Regions from separate parts of the Homo sapiens genome. Here region 2 is linked to region 1. Evidence: promoter capture Hi-C in 16 types of primary human blood cells and fetal thymus (Javierre and others, 2016). All regions are on one chromosome and are shown on one strand. The core of a region is centred on a gene start or on the middle of the fragment in contact, and the rest is flanking DNA. Distances in the headings are between cores, read along the strand shown. Region 1 holds the start of TRA2B (transformer 2 beta homolog). Region 2 overlaps ST6GAL1 (ST6 beta-galactoside alpha-2,6-sialyltransferase 1).

Evidence for each region. The method cuts DNA at HindIII sites, captures the fragments that hold promoters and counts their contacts. A CHiCAGO score of 5 or more calls a contact.
Region 2: a contact is called between a fragment that was not itself captured here and the fragment with the promoter of TRA2B in region 1, in 1 of 17 cell types (naive CD8 T cells). The highest score is 11.1, in naive CD8 T cells.

Annotation. Positions count from the first base shown.
Region 1 is chr3:185,936,613-185,943,700 of GRCh38, reverse strand. It overlaps TRA2B (transformer 2 beta homolog), which reads left to right and starts at 5,687. Exons shown (of 9, transcript NM_004593.3): 1 at 5,687-5,876. The coding sequence starts at 5,841. RefSeq lists enhancers at 5,756-6,215, 5,626-6,353, 6,256-6,465. The HindIII fragment of the contact is 7,639 bases long and covers 329-7,088 here.
Region 2 is chr3:187,025,213-187,032,300 of GRCh38, reverse strand. The region is part of intron 2 of ST6GAL1 (ST6 beta-galactoside alpha-2,6-sialyltransferase 1); the gene reads right to left. Among named protein-coding and RNA genes, the nearest start is that of ST6GAL1, 98 kb to the right of the region's middle. RefSeq lists an enhancer at 6,111-6,440. The HindIII fragment of the contact is 2,635 bases long and covers 2,402-5,036 here.

The DNA.
Region 1 (7,088 bases), core at 4,438-6,937:
CCTCTGCTGGTTGCTGCTGGGAACTACACACTGCAGGAGCCAGACACTGAAGAAGCTGCAAATGTTACGAAACCTGGCCAGGGGTGGGAACCGGTGCTCTAGAGGCAGCTGCTGGCTACTAGGTGCTGCTGACTGCCAGGCACTGCAGGAGCCGGGAAACTAGAAACACTGTCAGCATACTACAGAAGCTCAGTGTTGGAGAGAGCTATGCTCTGCAGGAGCTGGTCCCTGGGGAAGCCTCATGTGATGCAGGAGCCTGTGGCACACACACAGGAATCAGGAAGTAAAAGCTTTCCTCCTGTAATGCCTGTCCAATTCTGACAAAGCTTCTGTGCCATCTGGGAAAGAAAAATATTGAAAGGTTCCAGATCTGTTTTCACAGAGCAGGCAAAAAGTATGAATTGGGAGCAACTAGCACAGCAAGTCATCTCCATCCTCTCTAACCTCATTGGCCACTGCCTTAGGTCAGGTTCACTCACTTGCTTGCTCTTTTTATTCCTTGTCTGGACTGTTGAAAGAGTCTAGGAACTGGGCCCCTGGCCTGGCTGCCACTGGCCCAAAGGATGACATGTGAATGTGAAAAAGGAGGCCCTTCCTTCGGGTGTACAGAGCACAATGCCCGGCTCTCAGCTCTTACTGACCCTTGCTAGGTACACCGGGCACAGCTCAGAACAGAAGCCTGGCTCCTCACCTGCTCCCGGTCTCCAATCTTCCCTGCTCATATCACTCCTCAAACCCATGCACCACACTGCCACCACTTTTCTCAAACTTAAAATTGAAAGTATAATTCACCTTTTCAGCACCCCTCAATACTTCTCTACTGCCCATTAAATAAAATCTGAACTCCTTAGCTAGGCATACATGGTCATCTGTGATCTGCTCCTTGCCTGTTATCCAGTATGTTGAATGACTAAATGAGAGAAGGCAAAACAAAACAACAACAAAAAAAACAAAAACCCCACTAAAGACAGAATGCACTAGTGAATCCCAGGGCAGAAGTTGAAAATTAAACAAGAAATGCTGGAGGAGAGAGTCTATGACTCTGGAAGGAGACAACAACAAACAAATTTGAGTGCAGCCTCTGGCTTGGCTCTAAGCTACAGGAGTAAGCCTGTTAGACAGCATTCCCTGTTGGGTGCATTATTTTCTCTGTATATATCTCCCCTACCAGGACTAGACATTTTTGTTGTTGTTGTTTTTGTTTTTTGAGATGGAGTCTCACTCTGTCATCCAGGCCGGAGTGCAGTGGTGCAATCTCGGCTCACTGAAACCTCCACTGCCCAGGTTCAAGCGATTTTCCTACCTCAGCCTCCTGAGTAGCTGGGATTACAGGTGCCTGCCACCACGCCCAGCTAATTTTTGTATTTTTAGTAGAGACGGGGTTTCACCATGTTGGCCAGGCTGGTCTCGAATTCCTGACCTCAGATGATCCACCTGCCTCAGCCTCCCAAAGTGCTGGGATTATAGATGTGAGCCACCTCACTCAGCCTAGGGCTCAAGGTTTTTACAGTCATTTCTGACTATCCCTTTCCCCATATTCCTATCACATTGGCCAGTCAAGCCCACCCTTTCATAGTCTCCCTACTCCCTGCTTAGTCCTCATTCTTGCTGCCTTGGGAATCTAATCCTCACTGCCTCATATTTACAGTACTGGATCCATATCCCACATGGCCACTCATTCAACAGCATGGCCCTGCGCTAGATGCTGGAGACACAGACATGAATGACACAAGACCTGCAGCCTGACCTTCCTATCTTTGCCAGGACAATCTTGCCTACTTTTAGCAAGTTAGTCTCCTGCTCAGGGACCTCTAAAGGCACCCTGATGCCTACCCAATCAATTCTAAATTCATACGTTGCTTTCTTTTAATCACTCAACAAGTACTACTAAAGGCTTACTGTGTGCCAAGCACTACGTATAAGGCAGTGGTCAAAAGAGGCACTGGCCCTGCCCTTAAGGAACTTATTATCTAGTGTGGAAGACAGACATAAAAACTATATTCACAGAAATAATAATGCAAATAGGGCTGAGCGCAGTGGCTAATGCCTGTAATCCCAGAACTTTGGGAGGCCAAGGCGGGCAGATCCCAAGGTCAGGAGATCGAGACCATCCTGGCTAACACAGTGAAACCCCGTCTCTACTAAAAATACAAAAATTAGCCGGGCGTGGTGGCGGGCGCCTGTAGCCCCAGCTACTCCAGAGGCTGAGGCAGGAGAATTGCTTGAACCCAGGAGGCGGAGTTTGCAGTGAGCCAAGATCGCGCCACTGCACTCCAGCCTGGGCGCCAGAGCGAGACTCTGTCTCAAAAAAAAAAAAAAAAACCCACAAAGAAATAATAATGAAAATAAAATAATTATATAATTATTATTCTTTAATTATAGTTGTGAGTAATATGAATGTCAAGGGGTGCCATAAGAATGTATAAACAAGAGATCTAATCTAAGCCAAAAAGTAAGATAAGGCCAGAGATCTGAGTAGGAGTCCAGGTTTAGGTGTGTGTTGGGAGTACAGGTGTTCTCAGAAAAAGGGGACAGCTCATTCAGAAGTTATTTAGTCACTTGACACTTGAGTCATCACCAAATCTCTGGATCTCAGGTACCTCAAATATTGATTCTGTTCTGGATGACTATTTTACCAAACAAGAGCCAAATTGCAAGCTCTTATAACTCAATAATAAAAAGATAAATAACCCAATTAAAAATGGGCAAAGTATCAGAATATTCGTTTCTCCAAAGATCTACAAATCACCAATAAACGCATGAAAGCATTATCATTATCGCTAGGGAAATGCAAACCAAAACCACATCGAGATACCACTTTAAACCCACTAGAGTGGTTATAATTTTTTTTGAGACAGATTTTTGCTCTTGTTGCCCAGGCTGGAGTACAATGGCACGATCTTGGCTCACCGCAACCTCCGCCTACCAGGTTCAAGCAATTCTCCTGCCTCAGCCTCCCGAGTAACTGGGATTACAGGCATGTACCACCACGCCCGGCTAACTTTGTATTTTTAGTAGAGACGGGGTTTCGCCATGTTGAGGCTGGTCTCAAACTCCTGACCTCAGGTGATCCGCCCACCTCAGCCTCCCAAAGTGCTGGGATTACAGGCATAAGCCACCACGCCTGGTCAATTTTTTTTAATACAATATAACAAGTATTGGTGAGGATGTGGAGAAATTGGAAGCCACATACACTGCTGGTGGCAGTGTGAAATGTAAAATGAATGCAGCCACTGTGGAAAACTGTTTGGCAGTTTCCCCCCAAATTAACCGTAGGGTTACTATACAATCCAGCAATTCCATTCCTAGGTGTATACCTAAGAGAGATAAAAACATGTGCTCGTACAAAAATTTGTACATGAATGTTCACAGCAGGATTATTCATAAGTTAAAAAATGGAAACTATCCAAATGTCTATTAAATGATGAATGGATAAATAAAATGTCATATATCCATACAACTGAATATAACTTGACAATGAAAAAGAATGAAATAGTAGTACATGCTACAACATGGATGAACCGTGAAAACGTACGCCAAGGAAGCCAGTTACAAAAGATACATACCATATGATTCCATTCATATAAAATGTCCTGAATAGGTTAATCTATTGAGAAAGAAAGATTTGTGATTGCCTAGGACTGGGAGGGTTGTGAGGAGTGGAGAGGAGGAGGGATGCAAAATGACTATTAATGAGTGTTTCTTTTCTTAATGTGATGAGACTACTCTAAAATTGTGGTGATGGTTGCACAATTCTGTGAATAAAAGCCATTTGAACTGTACACTTTAAATAAGGGAACTGCATAGTAGGTGAGTCGTATCTCAATAAAGCTGTTAAAAAAAATCAGGAGTTGGGGATATGGGGCTGAGGCAGGAGGAACACTTGAGACTGGGAGGTGCAATGAGCCACCGCACTCCAGCCTGCACGACAGAGCCAGAGAGACCCTGTCTCAAAAAAAAAAAAAAAAAATCAAATGACCCTTTACCAGTATCAAAGTGCCTCATCAGCCAGGTACCACCTTTTCAATGGATGGGGAGACTGAAGTGTAGAGGAATTAAGTATCCGACTTGGGGGTTGGGGGAAGTGGCTCACGCCTGTAATCCCAACACTTTGGGAGGCCGAGGTGGGAGGATCGCTTGAGCCCAGGAGACCAGCCTGGCCAATATGCCAAAACTCCGTCTCTATAAAAAATACAAAAAATTAGCCTGGCGTGTTGGCAGGCGCCTGTAATTCCAGCTGCTACGGAGGCTGAGGCGGAGAATCACTTGAACCCGGGAGGCAGACGTTGCAGTGAGCCGAGATCGCGCCGTTGCACTCCAGTCTGAGCGACAAAGCAAGACTCCGTCTCAAAAAAAAGAAGAAAGAAAGTATCCGACTTGGTCTTGGGCTCTTCTCACTATAATCCAACTATATTCTCTTACGAAATGGCAGAATTAATCTTCCCTCCTTGTGACACCCCTGTAGTTATACATGCCTCTGGCACTTACAATCATTTTTTCTAATTGTGTTTAACGGTTCTAGCACATTACTTTGTAACTTTAGAATAGAGATTGTGTCTGATTCCTGTGTATTAAGGTCCGACCTTTTTTATTTTTATTTATTTATTTTTTAGACAGAGTCTCGCTCTGTCGCCCAGGCTGGAGTGCAGCGGTCCGATCTCGGCTCACTGCAACCTCCGCCTCCCGGGTTCAAGCGATTCTCCTGCCTCAGCCTCCCGAGTGGCTGGGATTACAGGCATGCATCACCACTCCCGGCTAATTTTTTTGTATTTTTAGTAAAGACTGGGTTTCACCATGTTGGCCAGGCTGGTCTCGAACTCCTGACCATGTGATCCGCCTGCCTCGGCCTCTCAAAGTGCTGGGATTACAGGCGTGAGCCACCGCACCCAGCCGATCTGACCTTTTTTTTTTTTTTTTTTTTTTTTTGAGACGGAATCTCGCTCTATTGCCCAGGCTGGAGTGCAGTGGCGCGATCTCGGCTCACTGCAAGCTCCGCCTCCTGGGTTCACGCCATTCTCCTGCCTCAGCCTCCCAAGTAGCTGGGACTACAGGCGCCCGCCACCGCGCCTGGCTAATTTTTTTGTATTTTTAGTAGAGACGGAGTTTCACTGGGTTAGCCAGAATGGTTTCGATCTCCTGACCTCGTGATCCACCCGTCTCGGCCTCCCAAAGTGCTAGGATTACAGCGTGAGCCAGCGCGCCCAGCCCGATCTGACCTTTTTTAAATGAAGACGTATTCAGGAAGGAAATATCTACAAGTAAGACAAAATTAAGTAAGAACCCAATGTACGAACATTCACTTCTCTAACAAAGGAAAGACACAAAACAAGAAACTAATAAGGCGGAGAAAGGAATTGAGATTGGGGGAAACAGCATCTCCTTCCTCCCTGCACACTCGGCAGGTTCCCTGGAAAGTTCTAGAAGGGATTCAGAAGTGGCTGGTGACATCACTGTGGCTCCGTGGCGCCCACTACAGCAGCCAAACGACACGCTAGCTTTCCCGCCTCATAGAGGCTCGTGAATGGGGGTGGGGCCCTGCGAGGGGCGGGGTCACGTCACTTCCTGTGCGGGACGCGCTGCAGCTGGAGAGGAAAGGCAGAGCGAGGAGGGGCGAGGCCAAGAAAGCGCGCGTTTCTGGGAGGGGAGGAGCCTGGCTAAGGAGCGCCGCGTCACATCCGGTAGAGTTAGAGCCCGTGCGGAGGCGGTGCGGAGCATTTCGGCTCTGAGCGGCTGGGCGACCGGCGCGTCGTGCGGGGCTGCGGCGGAGCCTCCTTAAGGAAGGTGCAAGAGGTTGGCAGCTTCGATTGAAGCACATCGACCGGCGACAGCAGCCAGGAGTCATGAGCGACAGCGGCGAGCAGAACTACGGCGAGCGGGTACGTAGAGCTGCGGTAGGGGGTGGCTGTGTGGTCCTAGCTCCTTGCATCTTTTTCTAGGCCCGTCGGCCTCGGGCCAGGAGGCAGGGGCGTTTTAGGCTCCGAAGTCTGAAGCCGGGAGGGCAGGCAAGGGAGACAGCATTTAACCAAAAAAAGCCTTTGTGGATAGTGCCTTAGTGCCTTTGGTCGTGAAGGAGGGAGGCCCCCGGCGGGTTTATGTGGCTTCTGCCCGAGACGGCCGTTTTTCCCGTTATAAGAGGGGGAAGATGAAAATGGCCGCTGCGTCCCCGCGGTGTTGGGGGAGGGGAGCGATATCTTATTTCGGCGTTGCTCTCCTGCGAAGGTCCGCCGCAGCCATCTTGGGCTGGCGGGCTGGGCGAGCTGCCAGAGGCACAAAATGGCGGAGAAGCCGCGCGGCAACGCGGACCCGACCCGCAGCGGGCCGCGCTTCGTAAGGCCGCGTGGTGGGGTGCAAGGGGACAGACGACGTTCTTTTGGGTCTTTGGGCCGGTGTTTAGGTTAACGAAGGACCGTCTTTGCCTCCACGGAAAGGACGGAGTCTGGGATGTCTTTGGGGCCTCTTAAGATGGAAACTAATCCAAGGCCGACTAAGTTCTGGGCCCGTTAGGTGGAGGGGATTGCGTGAGGGCTTTGTGTTTGGCCTAAATGAAGCGCTTTTCTCTGATGCCGAAAGGGCTTCCCAGGCAAAAATCTGTATCAGTATTCTATTAGGACAGACCACAAAGTCGTTAAGATGATTTTGTGGACATCGCATTTCCACGGGATTGTGAAGGAGAAATTGGCGGGCAACCATTTACGGCGCCGTTATTTCCTTTGTTTTGAGGCGTTCTAATACTTAGAACCACAGCGTGTGTTGGCTACAGTTTTCTTTCCCTTAAGTTTCCACCTCTTAAAGGTGTTCAGTGAGGGTTGATTGAATTGCGGGAACAAGACAGTTCTAGGGTTTAAACAGCATACGTAGCTGGTCTGTGGGGCTCTGGGTATTGGATTCGGAAAGCATTGAATGATGCGAACATACGAGGCTTGCTAGAATTAAGAGGAATCTGTTAGAAGGGTGATAGAAAAGCACCATAGAAATTGATTTTTGAGGCTGTGGGAATAATTTGTGCTTTTTTAAAAAAAAAAAACAATTTGTTACCTAAGTTTCCCCTTGTTGGTAAAGCTACCTTAAGATCTGAATATGATTTATCA
Region 2 (7,088 bases), core at 2,470-4,969, 1.1 Mb before region 1:
TTTGATACAGCCCACAGACAACAGAAAAGTACATCAATCCCAGCTCTTCCTCCCTTACATCAACTGCATCTGCTCAAAAAACCTTGCCCTCTAAGAAGATAAAAATCACTCTCCATTTTTGATTTTCAAAAATCAACCAATTGAAACAAAAGTGGTGCAACTATCTAGATTTATCATAGGTGATGAGGGCTTTCCAAAAATAGTCCCTGCTGCTGATGAGATAGCAGCACTACTGATCTTCAACCAGCTGTAGAAGTGATAACAGAACCCTCAACTCTCTGGGTGAGAAACTTTAGCAATCCTGGCAATAATAGCTACCATTTATTTAGCACTAGCTATGTGCCAAGCACTGACTATAGCTTAGGGATGAACAATACAAGCTTTGGAATCAGATTTATCAAGACAAGAGCCCAAACTGCCTTTCACCAGCTACCTGACTTTGAGCAAGTTACTCAACCCCTTAAGACCCAAGATTTAAGACATCTTTATCTATAAAATAGAAATAGTAATAATAACAAGTCCTACCTCATAGTGTGATTTACAGAATCAAGTAAAATAATCCACTCGGCCAGGTACTGTGGCTCATGCCTGTAATCCCAGCACCTTGGGAGGCTGAGGCAGGTGGATGACTTGAAGTCAGAAGCCCGTGACCAGCCTGACCAACATGGTGAAAACCCGTCTCTACTAAAAATACAAAACTAGCGGGGCGTGGTGACGTGTGTCTGTAATCTTAGTTACTCGGGAGGCTGATGTAGGAGAATCACTTGAACCCGGGAGGTGGAGGTTGCAGTGAGCCGAGATCACACCACTGCACTGCAGCCTGGGCAACAGAGCGAGACTCCATCTCAAAAAAAAAAAAAGATAATCCACTCAAAGGGATTACAACAGTCACCATCCCTTCCTCTGTGGATACCATTACTACCCCCATTTTTACAAACAGGGAAACTGAGACAGGGAAGATAAATAATTTGCCCAGATTAAGTAGAATGGCACTCTAAATGTCGAAGACTCTTTCATGCCTTTGCAGCTCTGCACAAGAAGTTCTTCAGCAAAGTGTGGTTTCCTGTGCTGTTCCCATGGGGCCATGCCCACTCAGCTTCCAACACCAGCTCAAGTGCTCCTTGACTCTCAAGCTTCCTTGGCCTCACAGAGATGATCAGCATAACTCCATGGTGCCTATTCTTCCCCTCATCAAACTATGTGACATTTATCTGTTTGCAGATCTGTCCCAACCAGATTGAGAGCTCCTGGGCCACAACTAGGAAATGTTCAGTCATGTCTGAATGCAAGAATGAAGCTAGCTCCTGACACCATCCCTCCCCACTGCCCACTGCCTTCAATTGCTACAGCCACTCCCTCCCACCTACCCACCCATCACCTTCAGTTGCCAGAATCACCTTGACGGCACCATCATTGCAAATGTTCATTTTGCCTGTTGGATACACTGAATGACAGGGAATTTACTACCGCCCCAGACCACACACAACTGTGTGAGTAGCTCTGCCTCTTAGAAATATATTAAAGTTAATGAAAATCAACTTCCCTGTAAAAATAAATCCAGTGTTGCAGCTGGGCACGGTGGCTCACACCTGTAATCCCAGCACTTTGGGAGGCCAAGGCGGGCAGATCACTTGAGGTTAGGAGTTCGAGACCAGCCTAGCCAACACGGTGAAACCTCATCTTTCCTAAAAATACAAAAATTAGCTGGGTGTGGTGGCGGGCGCCTGTAATCCCAGCTACTTGAGAGGCTGAGGCAGGAGGATCGCTTGAATCCGGGAGGCGGAGGTTGAAGTGAGCTGAGATTGCACCACTGCACTCCAGCCTGGACAACAGAGCAAGACTCTGTCTAAAAAATAAAATAAAAAATGAATAACTATAAACCCAGTGTTTTAAGCTCTACTCACTGGAGCCACATAGACTCAGATGGTGAACCTCTAACACTTGTTGCCTCTAGCAAGTGTTAGACTGAACCTCTAACACATGCTATTTGTCAGGCTCAAAGTGAAGAGCATCACATGCATCAATGCATGTCATCCTCACAGAGACCCTGTGCAGACAGCGCTACCTATGACCCCACTTACCTGGCTGCAGCCATCTTCTCCCCCACCCAAAATACCGTGCTTCGTTGCCTGAATATTTTAGCTCCAACACTGTTTCTATCATAACTCCTTGTGATATTAATATCCACTTTTAGGATATTCTAGTCCTCTGGCCTCACAGTCCTTTGATCTCCTCTACCCCAGTGATTGTGACCACGGCCACTCACTCCCAGAGTTGTATCTCTGATCTTGTTATTTCCCAACAATACCTTCCATAATCTTGAGTTCAGGCATCCCATCTCCAATTACCACTCCTGTCTATATGCAGCCTATTCCAACTAGTACCCCAACTCCAACAAGCTTCTGTGGTTAATCCTTCCACCTGTCACTGTTCCTCACTTTCCTCATATTCTTACTTCCCTTCCTACACAGCTTAAATTCCATGGTCAAAATCATTAAAATGAGTCCTTTGCCCTCTTTGATCACACATGATTGGCTAAAACTCAATCCTGGTTAAATCCAACCCTCTGTTCTGCTCCACACCAGCAAACATGCAACTGAGCATGGCTAGAGAAAATTGTACAACAATGCTTACTGATTTCACTTCAAGTTCGCGATCCCTAACTGCCAGGAGGTCCTTAATGCTTTTCAGAAATCACATGCTACTTGTCCAGTCTATTCATCTGGCACTCGCCCACTACTTGACTTCCTCCTTTCAATCTCCCTCTCCTGTGATGAATTTGCTACTTGTTCATGGAGAAAACAAAAGCTGCCAGATTAGAACTTCCTCAAACCCCCTAACAGAGCCCCCTTTATCTGCATTTATGTCCATATGCCTCATTACTATAGATGAACTGGCTATGTCCAACACTTGCAATAACCAACACTTGTCCACTAGATCCTACACATTATTGTTTACTTAAGAAAGTTGTTCTAGAAAACCTCACCCCTTTGTTTAATTGATAAGTATCCCTCTCTCAAAGATTACTCCCATCAACATATAGACACGCTGCTGCTCTTAAAAAGCAAAATCAAAACACCTCTCGTGAGTCAAGCAGCCGTGACCTGACCCTGATCAGTCTTTTAGCATCATTAACAGTGAGACATCTAGATAGTGTGTGCCTTCTGATGTGACGTGACATGAAGCACCTATGAAAAATTCTTTTTTTTTTTAGAGACAAGGTCTTGCTTTGTCACCCAGGCTGGAGTACACAGTGGCACAATCTCTGTTCACCGCAACCTCCACCTCCCAGGTTCAAGCGATTCTCCTGCCTCAGCCTCCCGAGTAGCTGGGATCACAGGCGTGCACCACCACGCCCTGCTAACCACCTATGAAAAATTCTTGCCCAAAATGTTTAATCTGTATATTATCAAGCTGTCATACACAATTCCAGTTTTTAGGAAATACAGAAGAAAGAAGAACAAGTCAAATAGCGCCAAAGGAAAATTATCAGACAAATCCAGAAGGTAGGACTTCCTATGGGACAACTGAACTGGTTTCATCAACAAGTAAATGGGAATAAAAAACAAATGGCTTCGCAGATATAATAATATGTAATACGTACACCTTGTCTGAATCTTGGTTTGATTCACCTTGGGGACAAATGGGGATATTGGAACATAGATTGGTTATTATATGGTATTAAGAAATTATTGTTAATTTTGTTAGGTGTATAAAAGTATTGTGGTTATATAAAGAAAAAGTCCTATGCATGTGAAGTAGTAAGAGATGAAATCTACTTTAAAAATCTACTTTAAAATACTCCAGCCAAAAAATAGATTCAGCAAATATGAAAATAATGCAATGTCATTTTTTGGATGTATTCAAATTAAGCTATGTAACAAGACTGATTTTCAAACTCCTTTCTTCTTAGACAGTGATATAGTTTGGGAGTGGGGAGAGTTTTAAAGAGCTTGAAGAAAAAAGTCACGATAGACAATTGTTTCTGTTTTACTCAAGGAATTAACTAAAAGATATATGACTTTAGAGAAGTCATATATTGAGCCACTTATTGCATGAGTTCTAAATAAACTCCACTTCCCTGCCCTGACCCTAAACCTCTTGACCTCATTTCTCTTCTTTAAAATGCCTTATTTCTCTTTCCTTTACAGTAAAACTCCTTGAAAGACAGTCCATAGTCTTGTTTGCAATAGCTATCTTCCCACTCTCACTTGAACCCACTCCAACCAGGCCTCCCCATCTCCATGAACCTGATCTTGTCAGAGTCACAAGGACCTCCACGATCTCCACATTGCTAACCAAATGGTCAATGTTCAGTCTTCATCTTATTCAGCTCATCAGCAGTCCATAACTTCCTCTTCCTTGATGCATATTCTTCACCTAGCTTCCAAAACCTATACTTCTCCTGGCTTTTCTCTGCCTTACCGGTAATGCCTTACTGGTCTCGTTGCTGGCTCCTTCTCTTCTGCCCCACTTTATGCACAGAAATGCCCTAGACCTGCCCTTTCTCTACCTATACTCACCCTCTACTGCTTGTGAGCATCTTGCGGTCAGCTCTCCACCTACCCAGCCCCCTGCAGTTTGAGCTCAATACCTGTTTGTTGAAGTGCACTGAGTCCGGAAAGTCGGTTCTGTCAGTGAGCTTCTACAGAAAGGAAGCCTTTGAAAATTTTTTTTGAGAAAAGAAGACGGGGCAAGAAGGGGGGCCGGAATAAAACACTGCACTCACTTCACTATTTACCCTCTTATCTGTTATCTGTAGAGAGGAGGCAACACTGAGGAGCACAGTGATTCTCAGACTTAGAGCACACCCAAATTATTAAAATCACTTGTTAAAATGCGGGTTCCTGAATTCTGTCTCAATCATTCTGATTCAAGTAGTCTGGGAGGTTGGGAGAATATTGGGGGGAAGTTGGAAATCTGCATTTAATAAGCACCCCAGGTAATTAATTCTCAGGCAAGTGGTGAGAAACAGGTCGCTGAGAACAGTGCTACTGAAAGTGAGATCTGCAGAGAAGTGCTAGGCTGAGAAAGCTTTTCAAGATGCAAGATGAGAAAAGTACAGAAATGGAGTGTAAGTGACTTTTACAGTAATTTTAAAGAGTAATTTTATGCCTGTTAGATCAATACTTTTTAAAATGGGGCTTGTATTTCAAATGTCCTTTTTCTCATTTCATGATTCTGGAATCCATGCTTTTTTATTTATTTGTTTATTTTATTTTTTATTTTTTATTTATTTATTTATTTTTTTGGAGACAGAGTCTCCCTCTGTCGCCCAGGCTGGAGTGCAGTGGTGAGATCTCGGCTCACTGCAAGCTCTGCCTCCAGGGTTCACTCCATTCTCCCGCCTCAGCCTCCCCAGTAGCTGGGACTACAGGTGCCCGCCACCATGCCTGGCTAATTTTGTTTTTGTGTTTTTAGTAGAGATGGGGTTTCACCGTGTTAGCCAGGATGGTCTCGATCTCCTGACCTCATGATCCACCCGCCTCGGCCTCCCAAAGTGCTGGGATTACAGGCGTGAGCCACCGCACCTGGCCCCATTTTTATTGTATTTTACGTAACTACTGATGTGAGAGGAATTGGGAAAAAAAATTTGGTTCTTCACCACCAATAGTTTGAGAAGCCTTGGCTTTGGAGAAACAGTTCACTCAGGCTCTAGTCTCAAAAAGCTAGATTGAAATCCTGGCTTTTGTACTGTAAGTTATCTTAGGCCAATTAGTCAGTTTCTGTGAACCTTGTGTCTTCATCTGCGAAGGATAACAATACTTAAAAGGTTGCCTCTGCAGGGCTGTGCTGACAATTTAATGATAGATTTTTATCACTTTATTTTAGCTAATAATTAATGAGCTTTTACTATGTGCTAAGTAATTTACAGGCAGTAAAGGTCCTGTAATTTGGTGAAGCTCATTTAATTCCTGCAGCAACAACAGTGCCCAAGGCGAGCACTGTTATCACCATGTGCTTCACAGAGTCCCCAGAGGAGCCTGCCCAGGCTGTCTGGCTCTACCACCCCAGCTCCTACCCACCGAGCTCTATCAAGCGGGAACCAACATGGGTCAAAACATTAATCATTTGTCAAAACATTTCTGACAAGTCACCGTTTTGCTCAAAAGCGCAGCAAAGGTCAGAAGCATGATATGCAACAAGAAACCGACTTGTAGCTGGTGAATCTGAGAAGACAGTGAAAGAAAGGAAGCCATGAGGGGCGCGCAGTGCCTGAGAGGCTGTGACTGTTGGCAAGTGTTTACCTGAGGACAGGCCCACCTGCATGGCTCATGGTGGGGAGGGGGAGATCCTGCCCAGAGCAAAGCCCTGAAGATAAAGGGCTTTCACTCCTGCCAAGGGTCTCTTACCAGAGATTACATCTTTTCCCAGCCAGGCAGCACTGATAATGAAGTCCTCAGAACATTTCCCTGAGTACATTTCCCCAGAGGTTTTCTAAGAGTCTGGAGAACAGAACTTTGTTGGGGGGTGTTGTGTCCCCACCATGAGGTCAGGCTGCGGTCCCTGACCAGAGCCAACCACTCGGAACTGATTAGGAGAGCTCTGAACTCCAGATTGACACAGCCATGGCAAAGGGAAATCATGAGCCATTTGCTACTGTCTTCACCCTTGCACCCCATGCACAGACAGACAGACTTGTATTCATAGAAATATCTGCCTTCCTATTTGACAGGTGCCTGGCAAAAAGTAGGCCTTTCGTGCCCCATGAATTCCCTTTCTGTATAATGCCCACTCCCCACTACACACCCCAGCCCCAGGAGGCATCTCCCACATGCTCACCACACAATTTGCACTCCGCTTGGTAAATCAGCATTAAGCAGAGGAGAGCGCAGGAAGGGCCTATATAGAGAGTGGAAAAAACACTTCACCCCTCCCCAGCAACACAGCTACCCACTCTTTCCTCCACATCCCTACACTACACCACACCCCTATGCTACAGAGAGCCAGACAAAGAAGAAAACGGGCCCGCCATCTCCTCAGAAAGAGGAACTGTCTCACCTCCTAATCTTTACTACACTGCTTCGATTTTTCTTGGAGTAATTTAAAGCAAACGCCAGACTTTGTATCAGTTTCCTGCTACCAGC